Linked DNA regions of Homo sapiens: regions 2, 3 and 4 are each linked to region 1. Evidence: promoter capture Hi-C in 16 types of primary human blood cells and fetal thymus (Javierre and others, 2016). All regions are on one chromosome and are shown on one strand. The core of a region is centred on a gene start or on the middle of the fragment in contact, and the rest is flanking DNA. Distances in the headings are between cores, read along the strand shown.

Region 1 (3,433 bases), core at 635-3,134:
AATTTCTGCCATATATAAAGGAGAGAGTGAGTAAGTGTGTGTGTGTGTGGTTTTAAGAGGGTAATTGTGGGAGGTCTGGGCAATTCAAGAAGTGCTGGGGGAAGGAATCCTCTCCTCTAACTCCATTCTGCTCATCGGGGCCTGCCTGAGACCTGGAGATCTGGTAACTTAACAGAGAGAAAGTGATCAGAGAGCAGGTTGGGGAAGAACTCCAGGGCCTAAAAGGCAGTGTCCCAGGGGGCCAAGCTGAGCAACCACTCTTTAAAAGGGGAGGGGTCGAGGGAAAGTCCTTATTCATCGACTTCTCTCCTTCTCCACGCCCCAGACAAACAAAAGGCCACCGCGAAACAGTTGAAGGTAGAGACCTACTGGCTTTGAAGACTATCAATCAGGTGGAAACCTGAACAAATCACAATTTGGCTTCCTCATCAAGTTTTCTCCCCAGCCTGACAAACCCTCCTCCGCCGCCGCCTCCACCTCCTCCTCCGCCTCCCAGGCTCAGCACAGCTACGAGGCCAAAGGGACCGTCCTGTGATGCCTGCTGGTTTCCAACTTTCCGCTCATCTTCGTCTCCGCAGCCTCCTGCAAAGCGGCTGGGAAAAGGGCAAGTTTGCAAAGCCGAGGATACAAGTCCTGGGGAAGCCACAAAGAAGCTGCAACACCAACAAAGATTAACCTCTTGTGGGGCAGACGAAAAGCGCCAGCTGCCGTTCAGGGGGGCGAACGTGGGCTCGGGCTGGCAGAGGCTCCGGCCAGCTGGCAGCGGACAGCAGGGCCGGGGGTCCCGCGGCCGCCCTCGGCCCCCCGCCCCGCGCGGACTCCCCCTGCACCTGAGCGGGGGTGAGGACAGCGCCGCGCTCCGGCCCTGCCCCCGCCAGGTAGCTCGGCTGCCGCCCGCGCTGCGCGCCCGCTGCCTGCAGCCGCCGGGAGCGACGAGAGCAGAGGCAGCCTCGGCCCACGGCGTCATGCTTCCTGCCACCACATTACGGCGAATCGTCACCGGGAGAGGGGAGCGAGGGGAGAGGGGGAGGGAGGGGAGCAGACACACGCAGCCCCCCGCCTGCCAAAACGCGCGGAGACGGGGCCACGTCCCGGTGGAGTCCCCGCGGGACCTGCCCCGTTTGCACAAAGCGCCGCAGTTTGGCCAAGAAGGGAGGGAGACGGCCACGAAATAAATAAATAAAAACAGTCGGGTCTACGTAACGCCCTGTCGAAAGCGGACGCCATATTTTTTTGTGGCTTATGTCGACATAGGGAAACGTAGACATGTTTTTCCTCCTCCTCCTCCTCCTCCTCGCTCTGGCTCCCATTTATCCAAACTTGTAATCAAAACTCTTAAAAAAAAAATCTTCTTCCCTCTCTGTATCCGCTCATTTCCTCCCACCCGCAAAAAGAGCCTGCACACCCCCCCCCTTCCGTACCCCCCTTCCAATCACAAACCCGGCCAAGTCCCATTAACAACACATTTTCGGGAGCCGCGGCGGCGACGGCGGCGGTGGGAAAGTTGGGCTGGAGTGGCCGGCGCCCGGCGTGCGGGGTTTGGGGCCGGCGGCGCCGGCTGGGGGGCTCCGCGCCGAGGCGAAGTTTCTTACCTGCGCTGGGGCTGTGAACGCGGGGACCCGGGCTGGGAACGCGGAGACGCGGCACGGGCGTTCCAAAATGGAACTCTGCTGGCTCCCCCCACCCACTCCCCACTCCCCACCGGGCGCCCGGCTCGGGCTCCGTGGGAAAGAGGGGGAAAGCCAGCCTGCCAGCCAGACAGACAGACAGAAAAAGCCCCCGTACGGAGAACGATGGCCAAAATTTTTAAAAGAAAAAAAAAAAGGAAAAAAAAAGGGAAAAAAAATGCCTCGATCAGTGGGGAATCTACGCCAAAACCCACATGATCTGTAACGTCAGCATGCGTATTTGCATACGATACCACCACCCGAGCTGCCACCCGGGCTCGGGTTCCGCAGAAAGTTACAAAGTGAAATTCAGCCCCCTCCGGAGACACCGGCGAAATGTCATTTTTCAGGCAGGAGCTGGGGGGGAGGCTAGCCCTAAAGGCGCTGGTTACTGGCCAAGGTAGGGGGGCAGTAAATTAACTTAAAAGTCTGAGCCCAGTAACGGACTCGGTGGAATTTCTGCGAGAAGAGGAGGGGGAGGCGCGAGCGAGATCATTGAATATTAAGCACGACCCCGCGCGGCGGCCGCGGCCAAACCGTCTCCGTGCAATACCCATTTTCTTTATGAAAAGTTCAAGGTGTCACTGATGAGCTCAACAAACTGTTGATCTTGACCACGTGGAGTGGCGGACCGTGGGACCGAAGGGCGCGCTTGCAGGCCCGGCTCTGGCGGTACCCGGGCCCCGGGACCCTTTGCGTGGGACTGTGCGCGGGTGGGGCCACCACGCACCCTGGGCGCTGCCTGCGCCTTGGCCCGGCTTCAGGCTCAGGAAAATAATAATAACGATTTTAAAACTATGTTGAGCGAGACACATTTTACTCCCGGAATGATAATGAGAAGGCTCGGCGTAGGGAGGGGAAGAAGGAGCCCCCCACTTATATAACGACTTGAAGTTATATCACTTTTGCTTGGGGAGATTCCGGGATTTCCGCCCGCGCCAGGTCTGAGGCTGGTTAAAGATCTTCAAACTTTTTTCCCTTAAGAGCCAATAAACAAACAGACGCCCCAGGGGCCGACTTAAACTCTGGTAGAGCCCGAGTTCGCTGGAATTCTCAGATTCGAAGAAATGCACACGCCTGCGGTGCTCGCAGAGAAGTCCCTCGGAAGCTAGGCGGGTCGCTTTCGCAACTGGGACTCCAATGTTCCCAGTGGGAGCGGAGCTCTCACCGCGGCAGCCCCCAGGTTCCCCTAGGCGCCTTAGAGCAAAGGTGGCGGGGGATCGCGCTGCCCTTCGCCCGCCGGCTCGGAACCATGAACTTGTATTCCGGGCGCCGCGCTCCTGCCACAGTGCTCGGCTAAAGAGCTCTAAGGAATTCGGGATCTGGGTACACTTCGGGATCTCAGGCGGCAACCTGTCTGCGCCGCGCATTCCTGCCCAGATGTACCTTGTTTCCCCCTGGGCTGGCCTGTGGACTCTTGGGCAGCTCCCGGGCGGGGACGAGGGGATGCGGTCTGGGGGCTAGTTTAGAAGCTTCGAGCGCAGCGAGAAAACAAAGGGAGCCTGGGGCTGGGAGGCTCTGCGGAGTCCCCGCCCGCCCTGCAGATTAGCAGGCGCGTCGCGTCGGGGCTTCCCGGGCAGCTCTGCTCTGGGGAATTAGAACGAACTCTAGCGGCCGTTTGCAACTCGGCTGTGGGCGCGAGGGCATCAACAGGTGGCCGTGTGCAGCGGAGAGGCCAATGGCGAGGACCCGGACTGGGGTGAGGACGGCTGGCCTTGGGGCTGACTGGGTGGCGGATGCGCTGGGTGACCTTTTGGCTTTTTCAT
Region 2 (3,433 bases), core at 514-3,013, 1.7 Mb before region 1:
CTCATGGCCTTTGCAGAATAATATCAAAGTTTCACTGCATTTTTACATTAGACATGAAAGCCTTTCTTGGTATTTAAACTGTAGGTCTAAGAAAATATAAAAGTCCAGAGACAGTTTCTCATTAGGATTTGGAAGTGACTTGCACAAGTAATCAAGACTGTATATAAATGCTGCTTTATAAAAAATTTTGAGAACAGAATTTACTGAAATCACAACTCAGAGATCTCAGTCCAATTCTCCAGTGATTAAGAGAGTTCACTAGAGTTTTCAAGGTAGCCAAAAAGAGGCAGGTATCCAAATCAATTCAGGAACTTTGAAACTATATATGAACTCAACTCATGAAAGAGTTCAGGCCTTTTCAATTTGGATTACCAAAAACAGGCAAATAAAAACAAAAGAAAAAATAAAAACTTACTATACATGTTACATAACAAAGTGTTTCACTCTTTTATGTGTAAAGTCTATTCATACCCTTACCCTCTTTTGGAAACTTATGACTAAAAATCAGGGTACAAAACATAATATTTACAATTCTCCAAGTACCCGAAATACCTCTAAAACAAAAAGCAACCTGTGGAAAAACATTTCAATACCTGACAGAATAAATATGGAAAAGCACAGAAATAAATGTTACTACTACCTTACTCCCAAGGGAGCCTTCCGCAATGAAGTTTACAACAAAGTGTCTTGAAATGTTGTTAATCTGTTGGTATACTTGATAAATTATAAAGAAAACATTTCTATTGGATTCTCATTTTAGGTTGAAAAAAAACCTGGTATTCTAAGTATTAACACAAAATTAAACTTTTGCTTTTAAACTAAACTTATAATAAGTATGCTTTTATCAAAAATATATGAACATGGATTTTAAAAAGCCAAACCCTACAGAGAGGTGTTAAATGAAGAGTTAAAGCAAGTTTTTCTAGTTTGTCTTTCCCATCTGTGATATCATAAAAAAAATATTAATATTTGGTCTTTGTCCCATTTTCTGACATAGCTTCTAAAATCCTTGGAATCTCTGGAGTGATGACTGTTTTGTACAATAATCAGATGACTGGTGCCTGGGGGCCCCTAGATAGCTTCAGGATGGGGGCTAGGTAGCCAGGGGAATCAGCCCAGTGATTAAGGGTTATAACTTTGATTCCTACCCCCAGCCGCCACTTCTGGGAAGAAAGAAGCTGAAACTTGAGTCCATAAACCAATGACTAGTGATCTAATCAATCTTGCCTATTTAATGAACTTCCATAGAAGCCCAAAAGGACTGAGTTCTGTGAGCTCTCAGATAGCTGAACACTGAAGCTCCACGCCCCTTCTCCTCTTCTCTCCTTCTTTGTCTCACCTTGTACATCTCCTTCCATCGGGTTAATTCATCTGTGTCCTTTGTAATTGCCTTTATAATAAATGGGTAAATGTAAGTACAGTAGTTCCCCCTTACCCAAGATTTGACTTCCTTTTTTTTTTTTTTTTTTTTTTAGTGATGGAGTCTCGCTCTGTTGCCCAGGCTGGAGTGCAGTGGTGCGATCTTTTGATTAACATAGGTTTTTAACCTCAATATCATTCGGTTTATCAATCTTCATTATGTATTTGCTTTTATATATTTTTAAGGATTTCTTCCTTAATCTAAGATTGGAAAAATAAAATATTCCATATTTTTTTCTAAAAATTTAAAGTTCTGCATTTCATATTTACATATACATCTAGGTAAGAATACACTTAGAAATGACTATTTTTTTTTTTTAAGAGACAGGGTCTTGCTCTGTCACCCAGCCAGGCTGGAGTGCAGTTATGCAATCATAGCTCACTTGCAGCCTTGAACTCCTAGGCCCAAGCGATCTTCTCACCCCAGCCTCCTGAGTAAGATAGGACTACAGGCACCCACCACCAAGTATGGCTATTATTTTAAATATTTATTTTTGCAGAGACAGGGTCTCACTACACTGCTCAACCTAGAAGTGACTGTCTATATATTGACATAAGGTAGACATCTAGTATAATTTATTTCCAAAGGTGTAACAAAATGATCATTAATTCAACAGTCCATATTTACCTCAATGTACTTCAATTCTATCTCTGAAACACATTATTTCTATATATACATTGGTGTCTGTTTCTGGGCTATGTAATTATAAATAAGGCTAAGTACTAATCTATTTGTCTATCCCAATGGTTCTCAACCATGATTTGGCAATATCCAGGGACAGTTTTGGCTGTCACACTGGGGTGTGGGGGTGCAAGGTGCTACTGGCATCTAATGGGCAGGGGATAGTGATGCTGCTAAAAATCTTACAGTGCACAGGAGAGCTCCCATCCGCAAACAAAGAATTATCCTGTCCAAAATGTCAATACTGCCACTGTTGAGAAATCTCTGTCTATTCCTCTGCCAGTGATAATTACTTCGGCTTTGTTTTTTCACTTCAGAGGTTTTCTGAAGTCTTTTTCGGCACCAAAAATAGCTATCTCATTTCTTTCAAGAACTTTATTGCATGGCTAGACCTAATACAATGAACAGATTTGTATCAATACATATTTAGATTAAGTTTGTTGCTTTGTTATTTCCAGTAATGCTTGCCCATAGTCCTTAAGCAAACTATCTCTCTAGGCCAATTCCCTAGAATTGAAATTGTGAGTCAAAAGTTGTACGAGCCAGGCATCCCAGCTACTTGGGAGGCTGAGGCAGGAGAATCGCTTGAACCTGGGAGGTGGAGGTTGCAGTGTGCTGAGATCACGCCACTGCACTCCAGCCTTGGTGACAGAGTGAGACTGTCTCAAAAACAAAACAAAACACTGAGAAGTCAGTTGTAAATGACAGTTGATACTGCCAAATGGTTTTACACTGAAATTAAGAGTCTTCCGGGCCAGGCACGGTGGCTCACGCCTGTAATCCCAGCACTCTGGGAGGACGATGTGGGCAGATCACCTGAGGTCGGGAGTTGGAGAACAGCCTGACCAACATGGAGAAAACCTGTCTCTACTAAAAATAGAAAAAAATTTGCCGGGGGTGGTGGCGCTTGCCTGTAATCATCCTAGCTACTCGGGAGGCTGAGGCCGGAGAATCGCCCGAACCTGGGAGGTGGAAGTTGTGGTGAGCCGAGATCACGCCATTGCACTCCGGCCTGGGCAACAAGAGCAAACTCCGTCTCAAAAAAAAAAAAAAGTCTTCCAAAATTGTATAAATTTACCTATTTCAAAAAGGTAAATACCTTTGCAAAACTAATAAAACTTTGAACTCTTCACCAATCTGATAAATTTTTTTTGACTTTTTTTTTTTTTTTGAGACAGTCTCGCTCTATCGCCCAGGCTGGAGTGCAGTGGCGCGATCTTGGCTCACTGCAACCTCCACCTCCCCGATTCGAGAGATTCTCGTGCCTCAGCCTCCACAGTAGCTGGGACTATGGGCAGGAGTCACTGCACCCGGCTAATTTTTTGGTAGACA
Region 3 (3,433 bases), core at 328-2,827, 1.7 Mb before region 1:
CCTCCCAAGTGGCCATAATTGTGAGCTGAGGAAGGGACATTGGTAAAGAATCAGATATGACATGGGAGCCTGACCACCTGCCTTTGCCCAGCTCATGATGGGCCTCTCTGGCTACATGGTCACTTGATGTCCATAATCAGTTCTTACCAAGGCACATTAGCATGGATAGAGTTGTTTTTGGGATTTTGCACTGCAGATGGCCCAGCCTTGCCACAGAATGCCAGGAGTCGACCTTGTGATTCTCCCATTGGAGCTTGCCTTCAACTTTCATGGCTTCTTATCACATTTACTCTTGTCCCATAGAATATCCTGAATTGGTCCATGCAACAGGGCTAAATACACCATACCTGCTAGAGAACTTTTACATGCTATGGATCCCACTGAAAACTGGCAGATTTCTATCTCACCCAGTTTACGAGTCAGAACAGTACTGCCAACTTCTGAATTCCCACAGAAGCCTACACAGCTTGGTGTGCTTCCCTGGTGGCAGAATAATTTTGGTGAAATGAGTGGGTGAGATGCAATAATTTGTCCTTTACTGTGAAGGGGATATCTTGGCATTCAAGCAGCCTACTGGGCCCTAAAAGTTTCACTGAGGTAACAGCTTGCTGGGTCTTAAGGATTATTTCCCATCCTCCAGTGTACAGTATGCTAGCTGCTTATTATTCACCTTATCCAGCTAGCATGATGTCATCAATGTGGTAGGTCATTGTGACATTATGTGGGATGTTTAGATGGTCTAGATCTCTTCGGATTATGACGCAGTGTGGAAGAGTTAACATAACCCTAAGCCAATACTATAAATGGGTACTGCTGTCCTATATAAACACAAACTTAATTCTTGTCCAGCACTCTCAGGACCCAGTTCCATACACATGCTCATGGTTCCTGTTGGTACATGTTGGTTAGATCCTGCATCTCTTTGGTCATATAAGCCCATTTGGAATTGAAAGTAGACACACAGAATGAGGGCAAAACACCTGCAGAACAGCTGCTTCATCATGGTGGGCTTTTTTCATATTAGGTTTTGTTACCTTTGAGTTTTTAAATTATGTGTAAAGCTTCGATTAAAAAAATAAAAATTATTAAAAAGAAACTGAGACAGTCTATCCACCTATCTCTATTTACCCAGTGCTGTTGTTGTGTTACATAAAATTCAATTTTAGCTTCATGTTCATGCAATATTTTCGTTTACCCTTGATTCAACCTTGACCTTTAAAAAGCCAAAAAGACAAATACCTATTTTGACACTGGTTCTGATCTCTCTGAAATTCTGTGTGACCAATGGTCAAGTAACCTTGCAGGTTATTTATCATGTCTAATCTGAAAAAAGTCATTGTATTTACTAATATTTTAATATTCACCTTATAGGTAAGCATTCTAAACATGATTGTGGCAAGAAATTCTTATATGCTTTACATGTTGAAATTCTGTGTCAAATGAAGTACATATGTATATTATTGCAAGAGTGAATTTCTTCAGTAATGATTGTGACAGCTAGTAAATTTAAGTAGAAAGTAATTATAAACTTCCAAATACTTTTTTTAAATGGGCAAAATATATGAAACAATGGCCCTGAAGGCATTGGACATAGGCAGTGAAGGATAGTAATCCATGAGAGATGGAATGCAAACAAGGTGAGCAATACAATTGCTCCAACTTGCTGCCTGAAGAAAGGCTTTGGCATGGGGAGAGGGAACCCAGAAGACTCTGTGAGGTGAGGAGATATAAGTGGGAGTCCTGAGAGCCCAAGGCAACTAGAGTTCACAGGGTAGAATACTAGAGAGGACAGAGTGACACAGAGAGAACTCCAGAGATCTGCTGACCATTCTCCTGAAGTATTAAGCTAAATAATGATTAGTACATGCATGAGAGGAAATAACCAAAGGCTTGGCAAAGAACCATCAGAAAGGATTAAAGAAAACAATACTCAAAGCTCACACAGGATGGTGAATGATTCCTGATCCCGTCAGCAAGAGTGGAAAAGATCCTAATTCACAAGGCACCAGTTAGAGTACTAAGAAAGGTCTTGCTTCAATAGCGGGAAAAATTAACCCTCGACTAAATGCTCTAGAATAACCTAACAAAGCTTAAAAGAGAGACCCAAAAACATTCAAACTGTGTCCAAATAACTTAATCATACTCCAGAAGAAAGTTCAAACTGTTTTAGGGATATGAAAATAATCTACAAAGTAAAATTCACAATGGCTGGCATCCAATCAAAAATTACCAGGCATGCAACAGAAAAATACAACCCATAATAAGAAAAATAAAACATTCTGGGCTAGGTGCAGTGGCTCACACCTGTAATCCCAGCACTTTGGGAGGCCAAGGTAGGTGGATGACCTGAGGTCAGGAGTTCAAGACCAGCCTGGCCAACATGGCGAAACCCCGTCTCTACTAAAAATACAAAAATTAGCAGGGAGTGGTGGTGCTCACCTGTAGTCCCAGCTATTCAGGAGGCTAAGGCAGGAGAATTGCTTGAACCCAGGAGGCAGAGGTTGCAGTGAGATTGTGCCAATGCACTCCAGCCTGGGCAACAGAGCAAGACTCCATCTCAAAACAAACAAAAAATAAAACATTCTGTCAAAACTGACTCAGAAATTACAGATGATGAAGATTATTAGACAAGGACATTAAAACAGTTATTATAATTATATTCCATGTATTCAAGAAACCAGAGGAAAGACTGAAGATATTACAGACAATGAAGGTATAAAAAGACCCGTATCAAACTTCTAGAGATGAAAACTCCAATGTCTGAGATGAAAAATATGTTAGATGAGATTAATGGCAGATTAGATATTGCAGAAAGAAAGATCAGTGAACTTGAAGATGCAGCAGTAGAACCTCCCTGAAACAGAGAGAAAAAAGAATAAAATGAGACACACACCTCCTACCAAAATAAATAGAGCATCAGTAAAGGGTGGGACAACTTCAGGCAGCCAAATGCATGTGTATAATTGCAGTCCTTGAAGGAGAAGAGTGGGGAGCAAAAAATGGTGGTGGTCTAGTCCAAAGTAAGTAGAAAAAAAAGAAATAGAGCAGAAATCAAAAGGTGGGCCGGGCACGGTGGCTCATGGCTGTAATCCCAGCACTCTGGGAGGCAGAGGAGAGTGGATCACGAGGTCAGGAGTTCAAGACCAGCCTAGCCAAGATGGTGAAACCCCGTCTCTACTAAAAATACAAAAAATTAGCTGGGCTTGGGGGTGGGTACCTGTAATTCCAGCTACTCGGGAGGCTGAGGCAGGAGAATCACTTGAACCCAGGAAGCGGAGGTTGCAGTGAGCTGAGATCGCGCCACTGTACTCCAGCCTGGGCGCCAGAACAAGACTCCATCTCAAAAAGAAAAAAAAGAAAGAAAGAAAAAGTAGAAATACAATAGAGAAAAATCAATGAAACCAAAAGCTAATTCTTTGAGAAGCTAAGTTTG
Region 4 (3,433 bases), core at 700-3,199, 1.7 Mb before region 1:
CCTCTCGCCTTCTGAGAACACCCTACTCTGTAATAGAGTAGTCTTTAATAAACTTGCTTCTTTCACTGTGCTCTGTGACTGGCCCTAAATTCTTTCCTGTCTGAGATCCAAGAACCTGTTTTTTGGGTCTGGAACAAAATTCCTTTTAAGTAACATTTCCTGTGGCAACTCCCAAGGACTTTATTGAGGTGAGACCTTCAACCCAAAAGAAATAGACTGCGCAGGACCAACTGACTGACTTTGGGTAAGAAGGGGAATACATTTTTATACCGATGAAGGACAAGGACACTTATCTAAGATTGGGTTTGAGGCCTACTTGGGAGGATTAAAGGCCCCTCACAGCTGAAAATGGGTTTAGCACAATGGGATGTTAACCATTATTCACTGTGGATTCGTCCTCCTTGTGCTCTCTGTAAGAGCTTTCCAAAGGCTGCCACTTGCCAGTTTCCTGATTGCTTTCTATGCTTTACTGCTACTTTATGAGAGAGATCTTGTTGAACTGGTCCTGAGGTTTTTAACTTTCCTTTTTCTTGTTTGCCTTTGGGTTATGGGCCATTTGCCTGTTGTTCTGGCATGTTGCTAGAAGACATTGGGGACAAATGGCTCTGTAATATTTACTTTCCCTAGATCTAGACCACTTAAATGAATTGTTTATTGTCTCTCCTTTTTTGCAAAGCTTACTTGGAATTTCGCATTTACAAGTTTTAAATGAAAAGGTCCAATGTGAAAGATTAAGCCTGGCAGCAATTATACCAGTCCCCCCTAGGTGAACTGCTCCAGGATGGAAAACTGGAGATTGCTTTTCAGCAGTTCTTTTTCATCTCCTTGCTAATGGAATGACTTTTACTTTTTGGTTACAAATGGCAAGGCCATGTAAATCTTGTCCTGCTTGCCGCTACTGGCCTGAACTTGGACATTCCTTTCTAGAACTTTGTCATTTCCCTTCTCTAGTGAAACATTTCTTTTGCTGAGTCCCCTATTGTGGTCTTTACTTTTGATTACCTAATAATCTTTTGGTTTCTGTGTTAACTTGGACAATTCTTCCCCGTGGGTTTAGGGACAGGCTTTACTTTCTTCCTTTATGTGGCTGAGAAACAAGGGACAGCCCTAAATGTTCTTGTCTAGAAACAGGGATACATCCCTTGACCCATGGCATATTTTTCTAACCAATTGACCATGTGGCTTCAGGATGACTCAGATGTTTCAGGGCAGTTGCAACAACTGCTCTTCTCATAGATGAAGACAATAAATTAACTTTGGGACAACATCTGGAGGTTTTGACCCCACACCAAATAACAGAGGCCCTAGAAGCTAAAGGGCACCAATAGATGAGTAGGGGATAGTTATTAAATTATCAGGCTTTATTGCTAGATACTCTTGATATAACTCTTAAAGTATAACAGAAGACCTTAATCCTAGCTACGTATCTACTTGGATCCAAAGGCACCCTAGATCATTCATGTACACAAGCTATGGAACAAATTTATTCCAGCTGGCAGGATTTAAAAGACGGGCCACTAGGGCTGGGTGTGGTGGCTCACACCTGTAATCCCAGTACTTTGGGAGGCTGAGGCAGGCGGATTACTTGAGGTCAGGAGTTCCAGAACAGCCTGGCCAACATGGTGAAACCCCATTTGTACTAAAAATACAAAAATTACCTGGGCGTGGTGGTGCACACCTGTAGTCCCAATTACTCAGGAGGCTGAGGGAGGAGAATCACTTGAACCCAGGAGGCAGAGCTTGCAGTAAGCCAAGGTCATGCCACTGCACTCCAGGCTAGAGACAGAGCGAGACTCTGTCTCAAAAAAGGATAATAATTTTAAAAAAGAATTAACATGTACACAAACTCCAAGTATGGCTTTCTGGTGCTTCATGCTCATGCTGCTATTTGGAAATAATGGGGACTCTTTAACTTCTAAGGGCTCCCCTATAGAACATTATTTGGGAATTTTAAATCTACTAGATGCTTCCTTGCTGCCTAAGGAAGTTGCTGTGATTCACTGCAAGGGACATCAAAAAGAAAACTCCAAAATATGCCAGGCACTGTGGCTCACACCTGTAATCCCAGCACTTTGAGGGGCTAAGGCGGGCGGATCATGAGGTCAGGAGTTCGAGACCAGGCTTGCCAACAGGGTGAAACCCCATCTCTACTAAAAATACAAAAATTAGTTGGGCGTGGTGGCTCGTGCCTGTAATCCCAGCTACCTGGGAGGCTAAGGCAGGAGAATTGCTTGAACCTGGGCAGCAGAGGTTGCAGTGAGCCTGAGATCGTGCCATTGCACTCCAGCCTGGGCAACTTGAGCAAGGCTCTGACTCAAAAAAAAAAAAAAAAAGAAAAAAAAGAAAAGAAAAGAAAGAAAGAAAACTCCAAAATAATAAAAGGGCATTCTTTTGCAGATGCTACAGCTGAGGCAGCTTCATTTGAGGGAACCAGTTAATCTGGTAGGCATGTTGGTGCCCACTGCCTTGGTGACGATAAAACTAGAGCATGGTTAATACTAGAAAAGAACAAAAATGGGCTAAGACCCATGGGTTAACTATAAGCACTTCCAGATGGCTAATTGATGAAAATGACAGATGATATGTACCAAGAGCTGATCAATGGAAAATAGTTAAGTATTGGCATGGCTCTACTCATTTGGGAAGAGATTTCTCATTTCAATTAATATGGCTCATCTGTTTATAGGGAAAGACTTTCTTTTTTTTTTTGAGACGGAGTCTCGCTCTGTCACCCAGGCTGGAGTGCAGTGGTGTGATCTCAGCTCACTGCAACCTCTGCCTCCTGGGTTCAAGCAATTCTCTGCCTCAGCCTCCCGAGTAGCTGGGATTGCAGGCATCTGCCACCATGCCCAGCTAATTTTTGTATTTTTAGTAAAGACAGGGTTTCACCATGTTGGCCAGGCTGGTCTTGAACTCCTGACCTCGTGATCCACCCACCTCAGCCTCCCAAAGTGCTGGGATTACAGGCGTGAGCCACCGTGCCTGGCCGAAAAGACTTTCTTAGAACAGTAAAACAAGTGACTTGGGCCTGTGAATTGTGTGCCCAAAAAAACCTCAAACAACCAAACTTTACCTCCTCCATTAGTAAAGCCTGTTCAGCATAGGGGGTCGTACCCAGAAGAAGATTGGCAAACACACTATACCCAAATGCCCCCATGTAAAGGATTCCAATATTTATCAGTGTTGGTTGATACCTTTCTTTACATGTTGGATTGAAGCTTTTCCTATCTGGCCTGAAAAGTCAATCAAGGTTTCTAAATTTTCATTCAAGGATATGATTCCCAGATTCAGGTTGCCTAAAAGCTTGTAGAGTGATAATGGCCCATCTTTACAGCAACAATAACCAAGACATAGCATCCGCTCTAGGAATTCAATATGGTCTTCATTCCGCATGGAGGCCACAGTCTTCAGGAAAAGTAGAAAGGACCAATCA

What was found. The method cuts DNA at HindIII sites, captures the fragments that hold promoters and counts their contacts. A CHiCAGO score of 5 or more calls a contact.
Region 2: a contact is called between a fragment that was not itself captured here and the fragment with the promoter of ZHX2 in region 1, in 1 of 17 cell types (naive B cells). The highest score is 5.3, in naive B cells.
Region 3: a fragment that was not itself captured here is called in contact with the fragment with the promoter of ZHX2 in region 1 in 1 of 17 cell types (total B cells); the score reaches 9.7 in total B cells.
Region 4: a contact is called between a fragment that was not itself captured here and the fragment with the promoter of ZHX2 in region 1, in 3 of 17 cell types (naive B cells, total B cells and fetal thymus). The highest score is 9.4, in naive B cells.

What each region holds. Positions count from the first base shown.
Region 1 is chr8:122,780,106-122,783,538 of GRCh38, reverse strand. It overlaps ZHX2 (zinc fingers and homeoboxes 2), which reads right to left and starts at 1,884. Exons shown (of 4, transcript NM_014943.5): 1 at 1,593-1,884. ZHX2-AS1 (ZHX2 antisense RNA 2) reads left to right here and starts at 1,935. Exons shown (of 2, transcript XR_007061082.1): 1 at 1,935-3,366. RefSeq lists enhancers at 33-567, 1,223-1,272, 2,440-2,939, 2,940-3,433 and silencers at 753-882, 1,103-1,172. The HindIII fragment of the contact is 13,394 bases long and covers 1-3,141 here.
Region 2 is chr8:124,478,445-124,481,877 of GRCh38, reverse strand. The region is part of intron 1 of RNF139 (ring finger protein 139); the gene reads right to left. Among named protein-coding and RNA genes, the nearest start is that of RNF139, 5.3 kb to the right of the region's middle. The HindIII fragment of the contact is 4,337 bases long and covers 1-3,433 here.
Region 3 is chr8:124,461,933-124,465,365 of GRCh38, reverse strand. It overlaps RNF139-DT (RNF139 divergent transcript), which reads left to right. Exons shown (of 2, transcript NR_108047.1): 2 at 1-2,873. Among named protein-coding and RNA genes, the nearest start is that of RNF139-DT, 11 kb to the left of the region's middle. The HindIII fragment of the contact is 1,028 bases long and covers 1,064-2,091 here.
Region 4 is chr8:124,445,133-124,448,565 of GRCh38, reverse strand. No RefSeq gene overlaps it. Among named protein-coding and RNA genes, the nearest start is that of TYW2, 4.0 kb to the left of the region's middle. The HindIII fragment of the contact is 2,542 bases long and covers 679-3,220 here.